5 separate regions of the Homo sapiens genome follow, and all the other regions are linked to region 1. The links are contacts of gene promoters, found by promoter capture Hi-C in blood cells and fetal thymus (Javierre and others, 2016). All regions are on one chromosome and are shown on one strand. The core of a region is centred on a gene start or on the middle of the fragment in contact, and the rest is flanking DNA. Distances in the headings are between cores, read along the strand shown.

What was found. The method cuts DNA at HindIII sites, captures the fragments that hold promoters and counts their contacts. A CHiCAGO score of 5 or more calls a contact.
Region 2: a contact is called between a fragment that was not itself captured here and the fragment with the promoter of ALYREF in region 1, in 1 of 17 cell types (endothelial precursors). The highest score is 5.1, in endothelial precursors.
Region 3: a contact is called between a fragment that was not itself captured here and the fragment with the promoter of ALYREF in region 1, in 10 of 17 cell types (naive B cells, erythroblasts, megakaryocytes and 7 more). The highest score is 8.5, in naive B cells.
Region 4: a fragment that was not itself captured here is called in contact with the fragment with the promoter of ALYREF in region 1 in 2 of 17 cell types (erythroblasts and endothelial precursors); the score reaches 5.6 in erythroblasts.
Region 5: the fragment with the promoter of LRRC45 here is called in contact with the fragment with the promoter of ALYREF in region 1 in 1 of 17 cell types (endothelial precursors); the score reaches 5.2 in endothelial precursors.

The regions. Positions count from the first base shown.
Region 1 is chr17:81,889,980-81,893,397 of GRCh38, forward strand. ALYREF (Aly/REF export factor) reads right to left here and starts at 1,607. Exons shown (of 6, transcript NM_005782.4): 1 at 1,344-1,607; 2 at 710-841. The coding sequence starts at 1,601. ANAPC11 (anaphase promoting complex subunit 11) reads left to right here and starts at 1,744. Exons shown (of 4, transcript NM_001002248.3): 1 at 1,744-1,862. RefSeq lists silencers at 1,624-2,163, 3,044-3,259. The HindIII fragment of the contact is 23,230 bases long and covers 182-3,418 here.
Region 2 is chr17:82,134,813-82,138,230 of GRCh38, forward strand. The region is part of intron 15 of CCDC57 (coiled-coil domain containing 57); the gene reads right to left. Among named protein-coding and RNA genes, the nearest start is that of FASN, 38 kb to the left of the region's middle. The HindIII fragment of the contact is 2,056 bases long and covers 607-2,662 here.
Region 3 is chr17:81,669,655-81,673,072 of GRCh38, forward strand. It overlaps CCDC137 (coiled-coil domain containing 137), which reads left to right. Exons shown (of 6, transcript NM_199287.3): 3 at 571-799; 4 at 2,090-2,172; 5 at 2,422-2,501; 6 at 2,841-3,418. The coding sequence ends at 3,050. Among named protein-coding and RNA genes, the nearest start is that of CCDC137, 4.6 kb to the left of the region's middle. The HindIII fragment of the contact is 162 bases long and covers 1,499-1,660 here.
Region 4 is chr17:82,047,160-82,050,577 of GRCh38, forward strand. It overlaps RFNG (RFNG O-fucosylpeptide 3-beta-N-acetylglucosaminyltransferase), which reads right to left. Exons shown (of 8, transcript NM_002917.2): 4 at 3,243-3,396; 5 at 2,759-2,847; 6 at 2,518-2,683; 7 at 1,872-1,957; 8 at 743-1,648. The coding sequence ends at 1,567. Among named protein-coding and RNA genes, the nearest start is that of RFNG, 2.9 kb to the right of the region's middle. The HindIII fragment of the contact is 2,210 bases long and covers 758-2,967 here.
Region 5 is chr17:82,021,566-82,024,983 of GRCh38, forward strand. It overlaps LRRC45 (leucine rich repeat containing 45), which reads left to right and starts at 1,740. Exons shown (of 17, transcript NM_144999.4): 1 at 1,740-2,298; 2 at 2,713-2,774; 3 at 3,128-3,198. The coding sequence starts at 2,079. CENPX (centromere protein X) reads right to left here and starts at 1,313. Exons shown (of 5, transcript NM_001271006.2): 1 at 1,261-1,313. The coding sequence starts at 1,296. RefSeq lists enhancers at 1-240, 1,790-2,713 and a silencer at 1,004-2,053. The HindIII fragment of the contact is 18,366 bases long and covers 1-3,418 here.

The DNA.
Region 1 (3,418 bases), core at 357-2,856:
GTGTTGAGACACTGTGAGTGCTCACTGGCCCTACTCTGTCCTCCCAAGGCAAATGGCTGGGCTGTGGGCAACTGAACCCTGCCCAGCCATCTCCAAAACTGATTCCCAAAAAGTCATTTCTTAACCAGAAAACAAGTTGAAATGCCATTGGGATTCAATTTTTCTTTTTTTAAAAAAGAAAAGCTTCAACCAAAGATGGATTTGAGAGTCATGTCACTGACGGGACACGGCGGTGGGGAGTGATAAAACCACAGCGTACAAGGTCTTTATAAGACAGTACTCAAGGCAAACAGAGCCAGAAAAACAGACTCCCTGTGCTTCACAAGATACATAAAGAAGATTCTTTTTCTCACATTAACCCACTAAGACAGGCACAAAATTTAAAAAGCAACTGGGCTGGGTCTAACAGCCAAAAACCACTCACATTTGGTCAGTCTTTGTCCCTGTTAGAAACTGGAAGCCCTGGCAGGGGATTTTCACTCACAGAACCCATCTTCAGACTAACAGCAGCAGTTCCTCAGGCTCAGCTAGGCTCGCACCTGCCTGCGCACTGACCCCGGCTTTACTAGCACTGGGTCTGTCCTGCAGCCCTTCAGAGCTGGGAGGGCTCCCTTCGCTAAGGCGGGAAGGGGACTCAGGGCCACATCCCCAAAATCACGATCCGTCCTGTGCAGGGCGAACGGCTCACCGAGAAGCCCTCGTCTCTTACCTGAATATCGGCGTCTGAGACTCCAAAATCCAGATTGGACACCAGCAGTTTCCCACCTGTCTCCACGCCGGCACCACCGCCGAAGCCACTGTCGAAAAGATCGTGCTGCCACTTGTCGGGAAGTTGTTTTGGCTGAAAAAAAAACCGCAACAAGAGCAGATCTGTGAGTCTCAGTCCAGGGCTTTCCTGACCCTCACGGCTACTCCGGACCCTTCCTCTTCCCGGCCTGAGAGGATCCGGCCGAAACGGGGCCGCCAGCGCTCCCTCCGGCGCTGCAGCTGCCCCAGCCCGAGGCCGCACGGTCCCACCGCGGCCGCACAACTTCAGTTCCCTTAGACTAACTTCCCGCCGCCTGTGCCGCGCCCAGCGTCCCCTCCTCTCCTGCCACGAGGCCCCAACGTCCGGAACAAACAAAGAGCTGGGAAGGGTCTCAGCCTCCGGGACCGGACCCCGAAAGAACGACCTCGCTCCCGCCCACCACCCCCTCCGCGCCCACACGCACCCTCCGGACCTCCGGGCGGCCGCTCCACCAGCCTTATCCACCCGCCGGCCCGGGTCTCCGCCGCGAGCGGCCCCGGCCCCAGCCCCGGCTGGCCCCCTCCCACTCTCCGGCGCGGCCGGCCTCCGCACTCACCCTGCTGTAGGGCGCCGGTCGGTTCCTGCCGCCTCCGCCGGCCGCGCCGCGGGCGATGGCCGGCCGGTTCCGGATGGGCCCGCCGCCTCGATTCACTCGCGCGGCGGCCTGCGCCCCACCGCCGCGGCCGCCCTGGGAGCCGGCCCGGCCGCGGCCCCGGCCCCCGCCCCGGCCGCCTCGCTGGCTCCGGTTCAGTTTAATGATGTCGTCCAGAGACATGTCCATTTTGTCGGCCATGGCGGGCGCGGAATCGGGCATCGGCTCGAGCCCGCGCGTCAGCACGCCGGCACGTCACTTCCGGCGCCGCGTGAGGCCTTCCGGTGCCACGGCCTCGGAGCGGCTGCTGATTGGCCGCTGGCGGACGGCTGCGCGCGCGGGACGGGGTGAGGCGGGGAGGCGCGTGCGCACTGGCGTGCGAGACTCGGCGGGCGCTGTTGAGGGAGTCGGGCCGCGACTGTGGTCGTTTTTATACCTTCCCGCGCGGACGCCGGCGCTGCCAACGGAAGGGCGGGTAGGGCGGTGCGTGATTAGGTTGGCGAAGGTGCGAGGGCGCAGGGGGTGGGGCGGCGGCCGTTGGAGGCGGAGCCTACGCGCCCCTCCCTCCCCGCACGCTCCGCCCGATCGGCCAGGGCTGGGGGCGCTGGGGGCGCTACGGGCGCGGCGGGTGCCTGGGAGCTGCTGGGAGTCCTTGTTTCCGCTCCCGCCCAGGACTGTGCGCTCGGCTCGCGGTGGGGTCCGGCGGGCGCGGCTTCGGCGGGCGGCAGCCGCTGCAGACGAGCTGCGGGTTGGTTTTTTGGTCTCCACCTGCAGCCCCCCCAAGTCTGCACTGTCACATTTTGCCAGTCATATCCTTTACAAGTTTTCTTGCGGGCCGGGCGCGGGCCTCACGCCTGTAATCCCAGCACTTTGGGAGGCCGAGGCAAGAGGTTCGCTTCAGCCCAGGAGTTTGAGACCAGCCGGGGCAACATCGTGAGACCCCCATCTCTAAAAAAAAAAATGAGCTGGGCATGGTGGTGCACTTCTGTACTACCAGCTACTTGGGAGGCCGAGGTGGGAGGATTGCTTGAGCCCAGGAGGTCGAGGCTGCAGTGAGCCGTGGTGGCACCACTGCACTCCAGCCTGGGCGACAGAGCCAGACCCTGTCTCCAAAAAAAAATTATTTTTGCAACTTATTAATGAAAACCAGTGTGCCATTTCATTGATTTTTTTTTTTTTTTTTTGAGGCAGTCTCATTCTGTCGCCCAGGCTGGAGTGCAGTGGGGCGATCTCGGCTCACTGCAACCTCTGCCTCCTGGGTTCAAGCGAGTCTCCAGCGGCAGCCTCCCGAGTAGCTGGGACTACAGGCACGTGCCACCATACCTGGCTAATGTTTGTATTTTTAATAGAGACAGGGTTTCGCCATGTTGGCCAGGGTGGTCTTGAACTCCTGACCTCAGATGATCCGCCCGCCTTGGCCTCCCAAAGTGCTGGGATTACAGGCATGAGCCACCACACCCAGCCCATTTCATGGATTTTAAGTTGTTTTGAGATACTTGCTTTTGTTTTTGTTTTTTGAGTCAGGGTCTCCCTCCGTCACCCAGAGTGGAGTGCAGTGGTGTGATCTTGGCTCACTGCAGCCTCAAACTCCTGGGCTCGAGCTATCCTCCCACGTCAGCCTCTCAGGCAGCTGGTGCACGCCACCACAGCTGGCTTTTTTTTTTTTTTTTGAGACAGTCCCACTATGTTGCCCAGGCTGGAGTGCAGTGGTGCGATCTCGGCTCACTGCAATCTCTGCCTCCCAGGTCCAAGTGATTCCTGTGGCTCAGCTTCCCGAATAGAGCTGGGAGCTGGCGTGATCTCAGCTCGCTGCAACCTCCGCCTCCCAGGTTCAAGTGATTCTCTTGCCTCACCCTCCCGAGTAGCTGGGATTACAGTTGCCCACCACCACACCCGGCTAATTTTTTGTATTTTTAGTAGAGACAGGGTTTCAGTATGTTGGCCAGGCTGGTCTTGAACTCCTGACCTTGTGATCTGCCTGCCTCAGCCTCCCAAAGTGCTGGGATTACAGGCGTGAGCCACTACGCCTGGCCTCTAAT
Region 2 (3,418 bases), core at 385-2,884, 240 kb after region 1:
AGCAAAAGCTTAAGTATAACAACTTAAAAATGATGGTTCTACTCAAAGCTTCGGCATGCTAGCTTACTTAGAAATGACCCCACATCAAACGAGATCCTTTCATCAATTCCATTCATGTTATGTTATGTAAAGATCTGCTCCTTCTCTAAGCAGACACATCAGAAGACATAATTACTGAAATAACATTTCCCAGGATTACAAATCAGTTTCGTTAAACTCACTGAGGATTCCAACAAGGTTTTTGGAGGGTGTTTATAACTGTTGACATTTCACATATTGGAAATTGAAACAGACATTTTTTTTTTTGAGATGGAGTTTCGCTCTTGTCCCCCAGGCTGGAGTGCAGTGGCGCGATCTCGACACCCCCAGAACATCCACCTCCTGGGTTCAAGCAATTCTCCTGCCTCAGCCTCCCAAGTAGCTGGGATTACAGGCATGCGCCACCACGCCCGGCTAATTTTGTATTTTTAGTAGAGACGGGGTTTCTCCATGTTGGTCAGGCTGGTCTCGAATTCCCGACCTCAGGTGATCTGCCCGCCTTGGCCTCCCAAAGTGCTGGGAATACAGGTGTGAGCCATGTGCCTGGTCAAAACAGAAAAATTTTAAAGCTTTTTTATCAATTAACTTGAAGTTAGCCATGATGAACATATTGCTTATGATCAACATCTGAGGAGCATCGCAGGATTAGCTCTGCCCTGTGGACATCCCGAGATGGGCCCTCAAGTAAAGCATCAGTTTCTTCTACGCAATAAAAGAACCCAAAGATGACACTTGGAAATGAACGTGTTTCCCTTGGTTTATAAACACCTGAATTTAAAAGCCATGAAGTCAGAAGATGCACGTGTGGGCAAAAACCTCCTGAAGACACTCAACACCATTGGTCACCAGGAGAATGTAAAATCAAGCCCACTATGGGATCCCGCCTCACACCCACTAGGTTGGCTGGGATCAACAGGATAGAAAACAGCTGGGTGCGGTGGCTCACACCTGTAACCCCAGCACACTGGGAGGCCGGGTGGGGGGGATCCTTGATGTCAGGTGTTGGATACTGGCGTGGGCAACACAGTGAGATCCCACCTCTATTTTTAAAAGAAATTTTTTTAAATATAAAAAAAATAAAGTTTTTAAAGATATGCAATAAAAGTATTCTTAATTAAAAAAAACCCCGACAGAAAATAGCAAGTGCTGGTGCAGATGTGGAGAAATCAGAACCTTCGTGCGCAGCTGGTGGGCATGGGAGGCGGTTTGGTGGCTCCTTACCAGGTTAGACACAGAATTCCCACATGACCCAGCAAGGCCACTTCTAGGGAGGCATCCAAGAGAACTGAATGTTCACAGCAATATTATTCACAATAGCCCAAAGGCGGAAACCATCCAAATGTCCATCAAACTGATGGACAAATGCCTACAGTGGCCTGTCCCCCAGCAAAGAGCTCTTCCCATGGAAAGGAATTAAGTGCAGACGCCCCAGCACGAGGGACCCTCAAACAGGACACAGAGGGAAAGAAGCCAGGCACAAAGGGACACATCCTGTGGGATCCTGCTGAAGTGAAACGTCCAGAACAGGCAAAGGCATGGAGGCAGAATGTGGGTGCTGGGCGGGGGACAGGAAGCAACTGCGAATGAGTGTGGGGTTTCCTCTGAAGTGAAAGGAATTCTGGAACAAATGATGATGCTCGCACAACATTCTTGACGTGCTTAATGCACTGAACTGTATACTTTGTATACTTCATGAGCTTTCAACAGTACATTTTATATGTATAGTACCAAAAAAAAAAAAAAAAAAAGAAAACTAGTTTTTTTGAGACAGAGTCTTGCTCTGTCACCCAGGCTGGAGTGCAGTGGTGCAATCGCGGCTCACTGCAGCCTCCACCTCCTGGGCTCAAGCGATCCTCCCACCTCAGCCTCCCAAGTAGCTGGGACCACACCCAGCCAAGTTTTTTGTTTTTTAGTAGAGACAGGGTGTCACTATTCTGCCCAGGTTAGTCTCAAACTCCTAGCCTCAAGTGATCCTCCTCCCTTGGCCTCCCAAAGGGCTGGGATTAGAGGCATGAGCCACTGCACCCAGCTGAAAGCTAGGTCTTGTTTTCTCAATCCTTACTTGGTTGAAAGAAAGCTAGTTTTTTAAAAAGCCATGAAATGTGTTAAAATCTTAGCAAAGTTAGCCCAATTTTGATGGGTTTGTTTCCTTGGTGTACTACTTTTTTTTTTTTTTTTTTGAGACAGAGTCTTGCTCTGTCATCCAGGCTGGATGGAGTGCAGTGGTGTGATGTTGGCTCACTGCAACCTCCACTTCCCAGGTTCAAGCAATTCTCCCGCCTCAGCCTCTTCAGTAGCTTGGATTACAGGCACCTGCCACCATGCCCGGCTAATTTTTGTATTTTTAGTAGACAAGGGGTTTCACCGTGTTGGCCAGGCTGGTCTTGAACTCCTGCAAGCATCCTATGATCCGCCCACCTCGGCCTCCCGAAGTGCTGGGATTACCGGCGTGAGCCACTGCACCCAGCCTTCCTTCGTTTACTATTTATTGACTTCCCCTAAACTATGAAGGGTTATTCTTTACTTTCTATGTAATCTGTTCAGACAGCAAAGGTGCTGTCTTACCAGGGTAATTTTCCGTGCTTTTGTTGACTTATTATGTCTTGATGGTTTCAGAAAACAAAGCTTCCCATGCTTATGAAAGAGCTAAGTTTCTCTATAACTGTTCTCTCCTATGTTTAAGCTTTTTGTCACTTTCACGTGGGTAGCTAAATATTATTTCTCAGGTACCCATGAGTCTTAATGTTCAAATCTCCTGACATTTTTTTTTCCTTCTCAAAATTGAATTCTAAATGTCAAATAAAATAAAGCTTTCAGGAGACTTTTCTTTTTTTTTTTTTTGAGATGGAGTCTCGCTGTGTCGCCAGGCTGGAGTGCAGTGGCGCAATCTCGGCTCACTGCAACCTCTGACTTCTTGGTTCAAGCGGTTCTCCTTCCTCAGCCTCCCGGGTAGCTGGGATTACAGGCACCCGCCACCATGCCTGGCTAATTTTTGTATTTTTAGTAGACGCGGGGTTTCACCTTGTTGGCCAGGATGGTCTTGATCTCTTGACCTCGTGATCCACCTGCCTCGGCCTCCCAAAGTGCTGGGATTACAGGTGTGAGCCACTGTGCCCAGCCCCAGGAGACCTTTTATATTTAAAATGATCTATGAGATGTCCTAGAAGTTCCCTGGAAAATCACAAAATTTTTTTCTTATAAAAAGAGAGGTATTTGAAATAATTAGGTACAAGGTGGGGTGTGGTGGCATGCGCTTGTGGTCCCAGCTACTTGGGAGGCTGAGGCAGGAGGATCTCTTTTTTTTTTTTTTTTTTTGAGACGGAGTCTCGCTCTGTTGCCCAGGCTAGAGTGCAGTGGTACAATCTCGGCTCACTGCAAG
Region 3 (3,418 bases), core at 330-2,829, 220 kb before region 1:
GTTCACGCCATTCTCCTGCCTCAGCCTCCCGAGTAGTTGGGACTACAGGCGCCCACCACCATGCCCAGTTAATTTTTTCTGTGTTTTTAGTAGAGACAGGGTTTCACCGTGTTAGCCAGGATGGTCTGAATCTCCTGACCTTGTGATCTGCCCATCTTGGCCTCCCAAAGTGCTGGGATTACAGGCATGAGCCACCGCGCCCGGCAGGTCTGCCCACGTTTCTCTGTGTAGCTCCACTGGGCTTCTTTCGGCAGCTGTGCAATGGAGTCTGTGGGTGATCAGAGGAGAATTCATTCAACCAGCCACCTAGGGGTGGACATTAGGTTGTTTCTGCTTTCCTTTTTCAGCTGTGCTGCAGTGGACATCTGTGACAGGTGCCATTGGGCTGGGGGGTCACGTCCCCGGGGATGCCGGGCCGGGCATTCTACATCCTCTTCAGCTGCTGTCGTTGGGGTGCTTCCAGCCAGCCTGGTCTTCCCTTCCTGTGGCTTTGGGAGGGGAAATGAGCATGGGTCACCTGCCTGCCACTGTCTGCCTCCTGCCTCCTCTGAGGCCTCCCTTTGTCCTCAGCCCAGGTGACCTTCAGAAAGACATTGGAGAAGGAAGCAAAGGGAGAGGAGCCCGACATCGCAGTCCCCAAGTTCAAACAGAGGAAGGGGGAGTCTGACGGGGCCTATATCCACCGCATGCAGCAAGAGGCCCAGCATGTGCTGTTCCTCAGCAAGAACCAGGCCATCCGGCAGCCAGAGGTGCAGGCAGCTCCCAAGGAGAAGTCTGAGCAGAAAAAAGCAAAAAAAGCGTGAGTGGAGGCGGGAGGGGGAGGGGTCTGCCCTGGGAGCCGGAGGGAAGACATTGGGTTCCCATGACGGCCCTCTGCAGGTACCCTGTTTCATAGCCATGGGGCAGCCTGGATTCAGGGAGACCAAGCCAGAGCCCTGGGAGTTGGCGAGTCGGAGCATCCAGCTGGGAGCCAGTGAGGGTGTGGCCTCCAGGAGGCTGCGGAACCTGGGAACTCTGCGGAGACCTCGCTTGGTCCTTGCTTTCACAGGAAAAGCACCAGAAAGCCCTAGCCCTGTGGGAATCAGCCCTGAGGGGGTCGGTCTGAGGGTGACGTGCCCAGGGGTTCTGTTTCCATTAGAACAGAATGTCTCTCGTCCAAGAGACTACACCTTCCTAATTCTCTAAAAGCTTTGGCCGAGTACAGTGGCTCACGCCTGTAATCCCAGCACTTTGGGAGGCTGAGGCAGGTGGATCACGAGGTCAGGAGATCGAGACCATCCTAGCCAACACGGTGAAACCTTGTCTCTAATAAAATACAAAAAAAAAAATTAGCCGGGCGTGGTGGTGCATGCCTGTAATTCCAGATACTTGGGAGCCTGAGGCAGTGGAATCGCTTGAATCCGGGAGGCAGAGGTTGCAGTGAGCTGAGATCGTGCCGCTGCACTCCAGCCTGGTGACAGAGCGAGACTCCATCTCAAAAAAAAGAAAAAAAAAAAAAAGCTTTGAAGGTTTGAGAGGTTGCTTTCAGCTCTGTAGATTCCCTGTTTCTGGATTGTTGTATTACTTATAGTTACCTTAGCCAGTGAAAGTTCATCACAGAGAACGTGGCCCAGATACAGCCTGGCGCCACGGTGATCTCCAGAGCTGTCGCTGAAGGTGAAGCTTCCAGATTCACATTGAGGGAGACGTGATATACAATGCTTGTTAGGCCCTTTAGACACAGCAGCACCGGATGGGCTGGATGAGTCTCTGTTGGGTGGTCTTTGGCAGCCTTCCCAGCCTTCGTGCACAAGGTGCCAGTAGCCCTTGCCCACGTGTCTGCACACATTGTCAGATGTTCCCTGGCAGGTAGCTGTCCCCAGCTGAGAACCACTGGGGGACCTGTGAGGGGCCTGTTGGGGTCAGAGCCTTCTTTGGTGGGCAGCTGTGGGTTTTGGGGTGGTAAGGGGAGCGGGGACTTGGAGGCAGCCACCTGTTCTTGGGTCCCTGCTCTGCCACAGGGGATCCCTTGTGGGTGGGGCGGCCTCTGCCTCCTCCCTGGGTGGAAAGAGAATTTAGGAATCTGAGTGACATGTGCTTTCTTCCCCAGGTTCCAGAAGCGGCGACTAGATAAAGTCCGACGGAAAAAGGAGGAAAAGGCGGCAGACAGGCTGGAGCAGGAGTTGCTCCGAGGTAGCTCTTCCCAAAGCGATGGTGTCAGCAGTGGTCCGGGTGGGGCCTGGGCGCAGGCCTTCTGTTCCCCACCAGCCCTGGCTGCACTGGGCACCTGTGGTTTCCCCTGGGGTCCACAGCCATTAGACCACTGGATGAGTTGGTGTTCTGTCCCAGCCCTATGGGAGGGAGGTGGGCGGGTGGTGGCTCTGGGTGTCAGGGGTGCAGTGGCTGTGGGCAGCAGTCCTCAGTTGTATTCTGCTCCTCCAGACACGGTGAAGTTTGGTGAGGTTGTCCTGCAGCCCCCAGAGCTGACTGCCAGGCCCCAGAGGAGCGTAAGCAAGGACCAGGTAAGTGGGGCACGGGGACAACTTGAGTTTGTCCCCCAGTGCTGCCAGGGAACAGAAGCCTTGGACAGGCTGGACACGGTGGGTCACACCTGTAATCCCAGCACATTGGGAGGCCAAGGCAGGCGGATTGCTTGAGCCCAGGAGTTGATACCAGCCTGGACAACATAGCGAGATCCTGTGTCAAGAAAAAAAAAAACCCTCAGCCAACGTGTGCGCTGTCTGGTGTGTGGCCTGAGAGTGCAGTGTTCTCGCTGGCGGGAGAGCTGTTGAAGCTGTGAGGCTTTCTGTTGCATCCCCTCCTTTCCCAGCCTGTGCCTCACCCTCCCCTCTCTCCCTCAGCCTGGCAGGAGATCGCAGATGCTGCGGATGCTTCTGAGCCCCGGTGGTGTGTCCCAGCCTCTGACCGCCTCCCTGGCCCGCCAGCGGATTGTGGAGGAGGAGAGAGAGCGGGCCGTGCAGGCCTACAGAGCGTTGAAGCAGCGGCAGCAGCAGCTGCACGGGGAGCGACCCCACCTCACTTCCCGGAAGAAGCCAGAGCCGCAGCTGTGATGGAGAGACACCCGGGGCCTGGCCACGCTCTGGGGCAACTGGCACCAGGAGCTGCTACACCTGGGTAGGAGAGAGGCAGGCCATGCCAGCAGTGTGGGGTGAGGCCTCCAGCTACTTGTTCACACGTTGGGCACTAGTGGGTCCACATCTTGCAGGGGGTGAGTGCCCGATGGACTAGGGCCAAGGCCTGGTTGACAGACGGCCCGTGGGGCCCGGTGTCACTCACAGCTCCATCTCTTTGTTTTGAACGTCCATTCTGAGTCTCAGCCCAGGTGGACCTTAGGAAGGGCTGGATCCCTGTCCCTGAACACCAAATACCGAGACAGCTGATGAGGCTGGCTCAGTGTGTGACGGAGGCCCCCGGGAGT
Region 4 (3,418 bases), core at 613-3,112, 160 kb after region 1:
TGCAGCAATTTTCAAGAATTCGCTTTTCTTTCGTTTCTGTTGAAATGCAGGTTTCAGACTTGCTGAAATTCACCCGACACTTGTTCTGAGCCCCAGAATTCCTCTCCCAGCCCAGAGCCTGCAGTGGACAAAGCCAAGGGCCTGGGCTGTTGGCTGAGGACCCAGTCATGATTAACCTCAAGTCTCCTTGGGGTGCCTTCTACTCCAGGCTGAGCACAAATGAGACAGAAACCAGCGAACTCCACGCGCGTTATGTGGGTGCCTCCTCTTTGCCCTCCACACACCCACGCACAAGTGCACACACCCACGCACGCAGACACTGCCACGCACACACCCACTGATGCACACAGACGCACACACGGGTGGATACTCACCTACATGCACGTACACACCCACTCTCAATGTGTCCACTGAGCTTCGTGTACACGCCCACGCACACCCACCCTCATACACACCCACGTGCACCTGGCTCCACACAACACACGGGAGGAGGCAAGCACGATGCTCAGGAAGGCGGCCTCTCAGGGCAGCGTCCAGTGTCCGTCCCTCCCGGCGGGACCCTCGCACGCCACCTCTGCTGGAGATTTTGGCTTCCAAAGAAGAGTCTGGTGGGTTCAAGGCTGGGTGGGCAGGACGGCAAGGATACAGCCCTGCCTGGGACAGAGCCTTCCTGGGGTAGAAGGGGGATATGGCAGGGACCCGAGGAGAGCTGGGCCGGTGGGTGACTAAGACAGGAGCCACGTGAAGTAAGAACAAAAGCTTTACTCGTGCTCGGCAACAGCAAAGCAGGAGGCAGAGGGGAGATGACGGCCCCTGTCCCATTTCCCTCCATGGAAGGCACCAGGCGGGGAGGTGGGTCTGCTGGGATGGGCAGGTCAGCGGAACAAAAGGCTCCTGTTGTTTATGGGCCCAGGCACAGTGGGGCAGGAGCACGACCCAGAAAGTAGTCCTGAGCCACAAGTCAGAGCGGAGAAAACATCTCTGTGGTCCCAGTCAAGAGGCCTCCGAATGAGGCGCCTGGACTGGGAGCAAAGCTCTGGTCGAGAACATGACCTTCCCGGGCCTGAGTCCCACTGTGGTGCCCGGCCGTGCACCCAGCCTGCGGCAGAGAGGGCGGCGTCCCCCACAAAGCCTGCCAGGCTGAGCCCTTGCAATGGCCGTGGCTGGGCCAGGACCTTGGCCTGGAGCCTGCTCCTTGACACCCAGCCAGCCTAGCACCCGCCTTCAGCAACAGGTAATGGAGCCCGGATGGCAGCTCCCTCCCAGGTGCGCAAGTGCTGGGGTGGAAGCCTGTTCCCGTGGGATCAACCTTGGGGCTGGGTCGGGGGGAGGGGCACTGCGGCCCTGGCCATCAGCCTGGCTGTCTTCGTTCTCCCAAAACACCCATCACCGCAGCCCACCAGGGGCTGGGAGAGGGGGGGCTGCAGGCTAGCCAGAGGGTCTGCCAGGTGCCTGCATCTCACTGGTGTGGCCGTGGCACCTGAGGGAGCCCACTGAGCCCATAGGGGGCTCTGGTTCCCCGCGCCTGGGACAGAGCCAGGCAGCCCTGGGTCGGGGTGGTTGGTGTCACCGAGAGGTCGGGGCGCCCTGTTTCTGCCTGGGACACCAGTCCGTGTCTGGGTACAGAAGACAATGGATAGACTTAAACCTGGGGAAGGAAGAAGTAGGGGTCAGGGCCGTGGGCGGAGAGAGAAGCGGGGGCCAGGGCCGTGGGCGGCGGGAGAACCTGGGGTCAGGGCCGTGGGTACAGGGAGAAGCCGGGGTCAGGGCCGTGGGCGGAGGGAGCAGCGGGGGTCAGGGCCGTGGGTAGAGGGAGCTGATGCCAGAGCCCCTGCGGGGCCGAGGGCCTGCCCATGCCACTACCTACTCACCGTGTGGGGTCTTGATGCAGGCTGAAGCCTCCAGCCACGTTCACCACGTTATGTGGGTTCTCAGGACCCCCATGGCTCAAGGTAACCTGGGAGGGAAGGGTGTGGGCAGAGTGTGTGGCCTGGTCTGGTCTCGGGCCACGCCTGCCCCTGGCCAGGAGCCCTGCTAGAGCCCCTTTGCCCACCCCCTCTCCCCAGGCCCTCGGGGAGGCCAGGCTTGGAAACAGCATTGAAGCATGGCATGAGCTGAGTAGGGGGACACCTCAGGCAGAGCCTGGGGGACAGAAGATAGGGATCTGAAACCTCCAGGGCAAAGCTGACCCTCATTCCCTCCCTGCTCCACGTGATGGGACCTGTTCCGACTCACCATCACCATACACACCACACCCACTGCCCAGCTGGCATGGGGCCTCACTGGCCCGAGAACTGTGCTTCTCCCCTCGTTCCTCTGCCCCAGACACCATACCCCATCTGTACGTGAGGACCCTGTGTCCAACAGGCCAAGGGGCCTGTCCAGGGTCCACCCCCAGCCACATGCAAATCCCACCTGCCTGCTCAGCCGGGCATCGGGCCGGGGCAGTGGGGCCCCTGGGGGAGTCAGGGCGGGGCAAAGCCCAGGTGGCAGAGGCACCCAGAGTGGCGCCTGTACCTGCTGGAGCAGGGTGTCGGGCGGCAGCCTCTGCAGGTTCTCCAGGTGAGAGTGGAAGAGGGGGCTGTGCAGCAGGCGGGCGCCCAGGAGCCCCTCCACGATGTAGCCAACTGTGCAGTCATCCGGCAGCCGCACCTGCTCAGCTGTGCTCATGAAGCTGCCCAGGCTGGGGGGAGGCCGGTCAGCACCTTTCAGGTCTCAGCCTCCGCCTCCCAGCCCGGGCAGCTGGACCCCCACTCACCTGGCCCATGGGCTCATCTTGAGGGCAAGGCCTCTGCTGAGGCAGAACCCGGCCCCACCAGTAGCAAACCAGAACTTGACCGTGGTCACCTGAAGATGGGGTGGTGGTCAGAGCTGCCCAGGACAGGGCTTCTCACCCCTGACTCTTCATGGGACTCCCCAGGCATCTTTCTTAAGCTGCCCCTTAGGAGATCCCACCCAGGTAACAGAAGCTTCTTGGAGCAAAAAGAGCCGGGGGCTTCTGCAGGCCATTGACCCGTAGCCTCCAGACCCTCCCCACCTGGCCCAGACACCCCCTCTCTGCCCAGTACGGTGAGGGCCTCCTGGCCTGCTCCTGAAACACCACATGCAAACCACCTGGGTGGATCAGCTTGGGCCCCCAACCCTATGCCCTTCTCAAGCCAGCTTTCCACGCCCTCTGCTGTGCCTCCCGGGCTGGTGTCAAGGAAGGCGTCTGCTCCGATGGCGTCTGCTCCGACACTCACAGTTCTGCCACCCTGGACCCTCTCGGTGGCCTCAATGGGGTGGTCCAGGCTGGGCCGCCCCAGGTAGACGTCCTGGCTGGGTGAGAAGCTGGAGAGCAGGTGCAGGAGGCTCCTGGCGTTCACATAATTGTCATCATCCACGTGGCAAAACCACCTGTGGGCGAGGGGAGTCCTGG
Region 5 (3,418 bases), core at 490-2,989, 130 kb after region 1:
GCCAGCTTTGCCCCATGACGTGGGCGCCACGCCAGGGCTACGGGCCCCCCACTCCCCGTCATTCTCACGCTCATTCTCTGCAATGACCACAACTCCAGCTCTGGCCAGAGCCCCTGGGCCTCTAGTTGTCAGGTGGGCTTGATAGAACACATGACCTCCTGGGGTGTGTACCCAGTGCCCCGTCTCCGGCAGTGGCCTTTTGGCTACTTTAACCTGGTGTTCTCACAACCACCCAGTGAGGTGGCCCAAGCCTCAGTGACTTTCTCTTTCTGAATTCCGGCAAGAATCTTCAACTCCACCACCAGAGTTCCCCACACCGACACCCCCCGCCCCCCACGCCTGCTGCCTTGGGTGATAAAGAAGGGCCTGATTCAGGAGAAACAGAATTCTCCCTGCTTCTACAGGGCTGAAGTCCTCCCTCCAGGATGGGTTCACAAGGGCCTGAGACCCTCCCTTCCCAGGCCACAGAGGCCCACGAGGCCCTGCTGACATCGAGGAAGCTCGGTGCCCCAACCTTCAGGTAGAGCAGTAGAAAGGTTCAGAAACCACTCTGCCTGCACCGATGGGGTCCTCTGCACATGGCACCCCCAGAGAGCTCCACTTCCAGGAACAGGGAAGAGCAGGGCACGCCCTCCAGCCTGGGCGGATCCTGGCTCAGACGGCCTAGGTCTGACCCTAGCCCTGCTGAGTCACTTAACGCCCCCGTGCCTCAGTTTCTCCACTGGCAGGTGGGGTTAATCCCTGTCAAGTGTGTGTAACGTGGAGCACCGAAGAAACCACGCGTTCCTAGCCCAGTGCTGGCGCCCACCGGGGAGCAAACAAAAGGGAAACCACTGTGCCTGGCGGCTGGGGTAGGTCCTGCCGGCTCCTCGGGCTGGACGATCTCACTGTCCCCGTCCTGGGGCCTCATCTCCCCTTAACAAAAGACCCCAGGCTCAGGGCGCAGGGCGGCGGCCCAGCTCCTCCTCTCTCTTCGCCGGCTTGGACTCCGCCGTGACGGCGCCCACCCCTGCCTGTTTCTGCAGACCCTCTCCACCTTCCCGCAGCCCCGGCTGCTCCACGCCCCCTCCTACCAGCTGCGAGACACCAGCCCACGAGGGCGCGGGGCGCGCGGCCCGGCCGGAGATGGAGTCTGAGAACGGGCCCAACCTCAAAGGCACAGGGGGCGGCGCGGGGGCTGGCGTCTGGCCCTCACAGTGTCACGCGTGAGGTCGGGACGGAGCGTCCGCGCCTGCCTAGCCCCTGCCCTCCGGCCCTCACCTTCCGGAAGCCGGATCCAGCTCCTGCTCCCTCCATGACCGCAGCCTCAACGCGCGCCCACCGGAACCCCGCCCCGCGCCTCCAGCCAATGAGACCGGAGCGCGCCCCCGGAGCCCCGCCCCGCGCCCCTAGCCAATGAGTCCGAAGCGCCTGCTCTCGGAGCCCCGCCCCCACGTCTCAGCCAATGAGCCCGGAGCGCGCCCTCCAGCAGCCCCTCCCTCACGTCCCGCAGCCAATGAACTTGGAACGCGCCCTCCCGGGGCACCACCCTCACGACCCTCAGCCAATGAGCCCGGAGCATGCCCTCCCGGGGCCCCACCCTCATGCCCCTAGCCAATGAACCTGGAGCGCGCTGCCCCCTCTCAGCTTGCGGCCCGAAAGGCGCGCCAGTTCCTTTGTTCTCATTGGCCCGCACCAAGCGCTGCCTGCGCAGAGCCTGCTAGGAGTTGTAGTTCCCGCGGCCTCTCCCGGCGCGCCTTGTTCTTCCTGGATACTGAGGCCCCGACGCGGCTGTCGCGAGGGCGGGGGTCGGGGCTGCAGGCGGGGCAGGGCTGGGTGGGGGCGCGCGACGCACCTGCCTGCTTCCTGCACGGGTGGTCCCCAAGCACTGCGGGGCCCCAGCCCAAAGCGGACCTTGACTACCGCCCAGCCCCGCGCTCCCAGGACCTCCCGCCCGCGGAGCCCACTCGGATTGCTCTCCGCCCGGGTCGGCGGAGGCCCCGTCTCCTGTACCCGGCGCTGGGACTGCTCCGCACCGCGCGGCTCCCTTTCAGCAGCTGCGGGAGCATGCGGAGGAGGCCCTGCCGGCCCCGCGGGTCATGGAGGAGTTCCGGCGCTCCTACAGCCGCCTGTGCAGGGAGAGTGGGGCCGAGCCCCAGGAGGCTGTCCTGCAGCAGCTGCACCAGCTTCCCAGGGGCCGGCTGGACCTGGCCACGCAAAGCCTGACGGTGGAGACCTGCAGGGCCCTGGGCAAGCTGCTGCCGAGGGAGACGCTGTGCACGGAGCTGGTCCTGAGTGACTGCATGCTCAGCGAGGAAGGTGGGCAGGCGCGGCGGGGTGGATCCCTCTGCTCCTTAGCTGCCCACACCATTGCCTCGGCAGCCCGAGGTCGCTTCCTCTCCAGGCTCTCCAATTTCTGTGCCGTAGTTAAAGCGAGCAGGGGCGCCCCTTCCTGCACCTGGGAGTAGAGGGCAGTTCCTCTGTATGACGGGGGAGAGGCCTTAACATTCGCGGTCTTACCTGGTTCCCCGCGTGCAGAGCCGGCTTGGTGCCTGGCAGGGGCTGCAGGTGTTTCAAACATGACTTCGCAGCGAGACTCTTGGCCAGCGCCAACCCAGACCATCGGGACAGTTGTCCCTTCCTGGGTCTAGGGAGCTGCCCTGAAAAGGGGCCCACGGGGAGGGCCTTGGGGTCAGCAGGGGCAGAGAGTGACCGCCGGCCCCCCTTACACAGGGGCCACACTGCTGCTCCGAGGCCTGTGTGCCAACACCGTGCTGCGCTTTCTGGACTTAAAGGTGAGATACCTGCACTCTTGAGTGTCCGAGTGTGCCACCCAAGGGCAAGAGGAGAGGTGGAAGATGCCAGGTCTCGGGGGCCTGGGGTCTGGGCAGGTGGCTGGAAGCTGTCTGTGAGTCCCCAGGCCGCTCTCTGATGGCCTCCTGTGTGTGACCATCTCCAGAGCAAGAGTTCACATTGGCAAACAAGCCGGCCCTTGGAAGCCCCCTGAAGACAGGGAGCCCAGGAGCTGAGGAAGGCTGCAGGGTGCACCCCAGGCTTGTCCCCTGGCTGACCAAGGCCCTTGGGGCATGGGCGGGAATTCAGAGCCAGTCAGGGCACGCGAGTGACTACCGGCCTGTTTCTCTCCTAGGGCAACAACCTTCGGGCTGCAGGGGCCGAGGCTCTGGGAAAACTCCTCCAACAGAACAAGTCCATTCAGAGGTGGGTGGTGGTCCCGACCCCAGGCCCTGTCTCTGTGTGGTTGAGGATTGGCCCCGAGCACATGCTTCTGCAGCCCAAGAGTTCCCCATTGCCAGGTGCCCATGTTTCACATACGTTGGCAGGGGTAGGCAGAGGCTCCGGCCCATCAGACCCCAAGCCCACACCCGTCCCCAAGCCCTGGACCCCACGGGCTAGGCAGTCCCCTAGGTGAACACTGGCT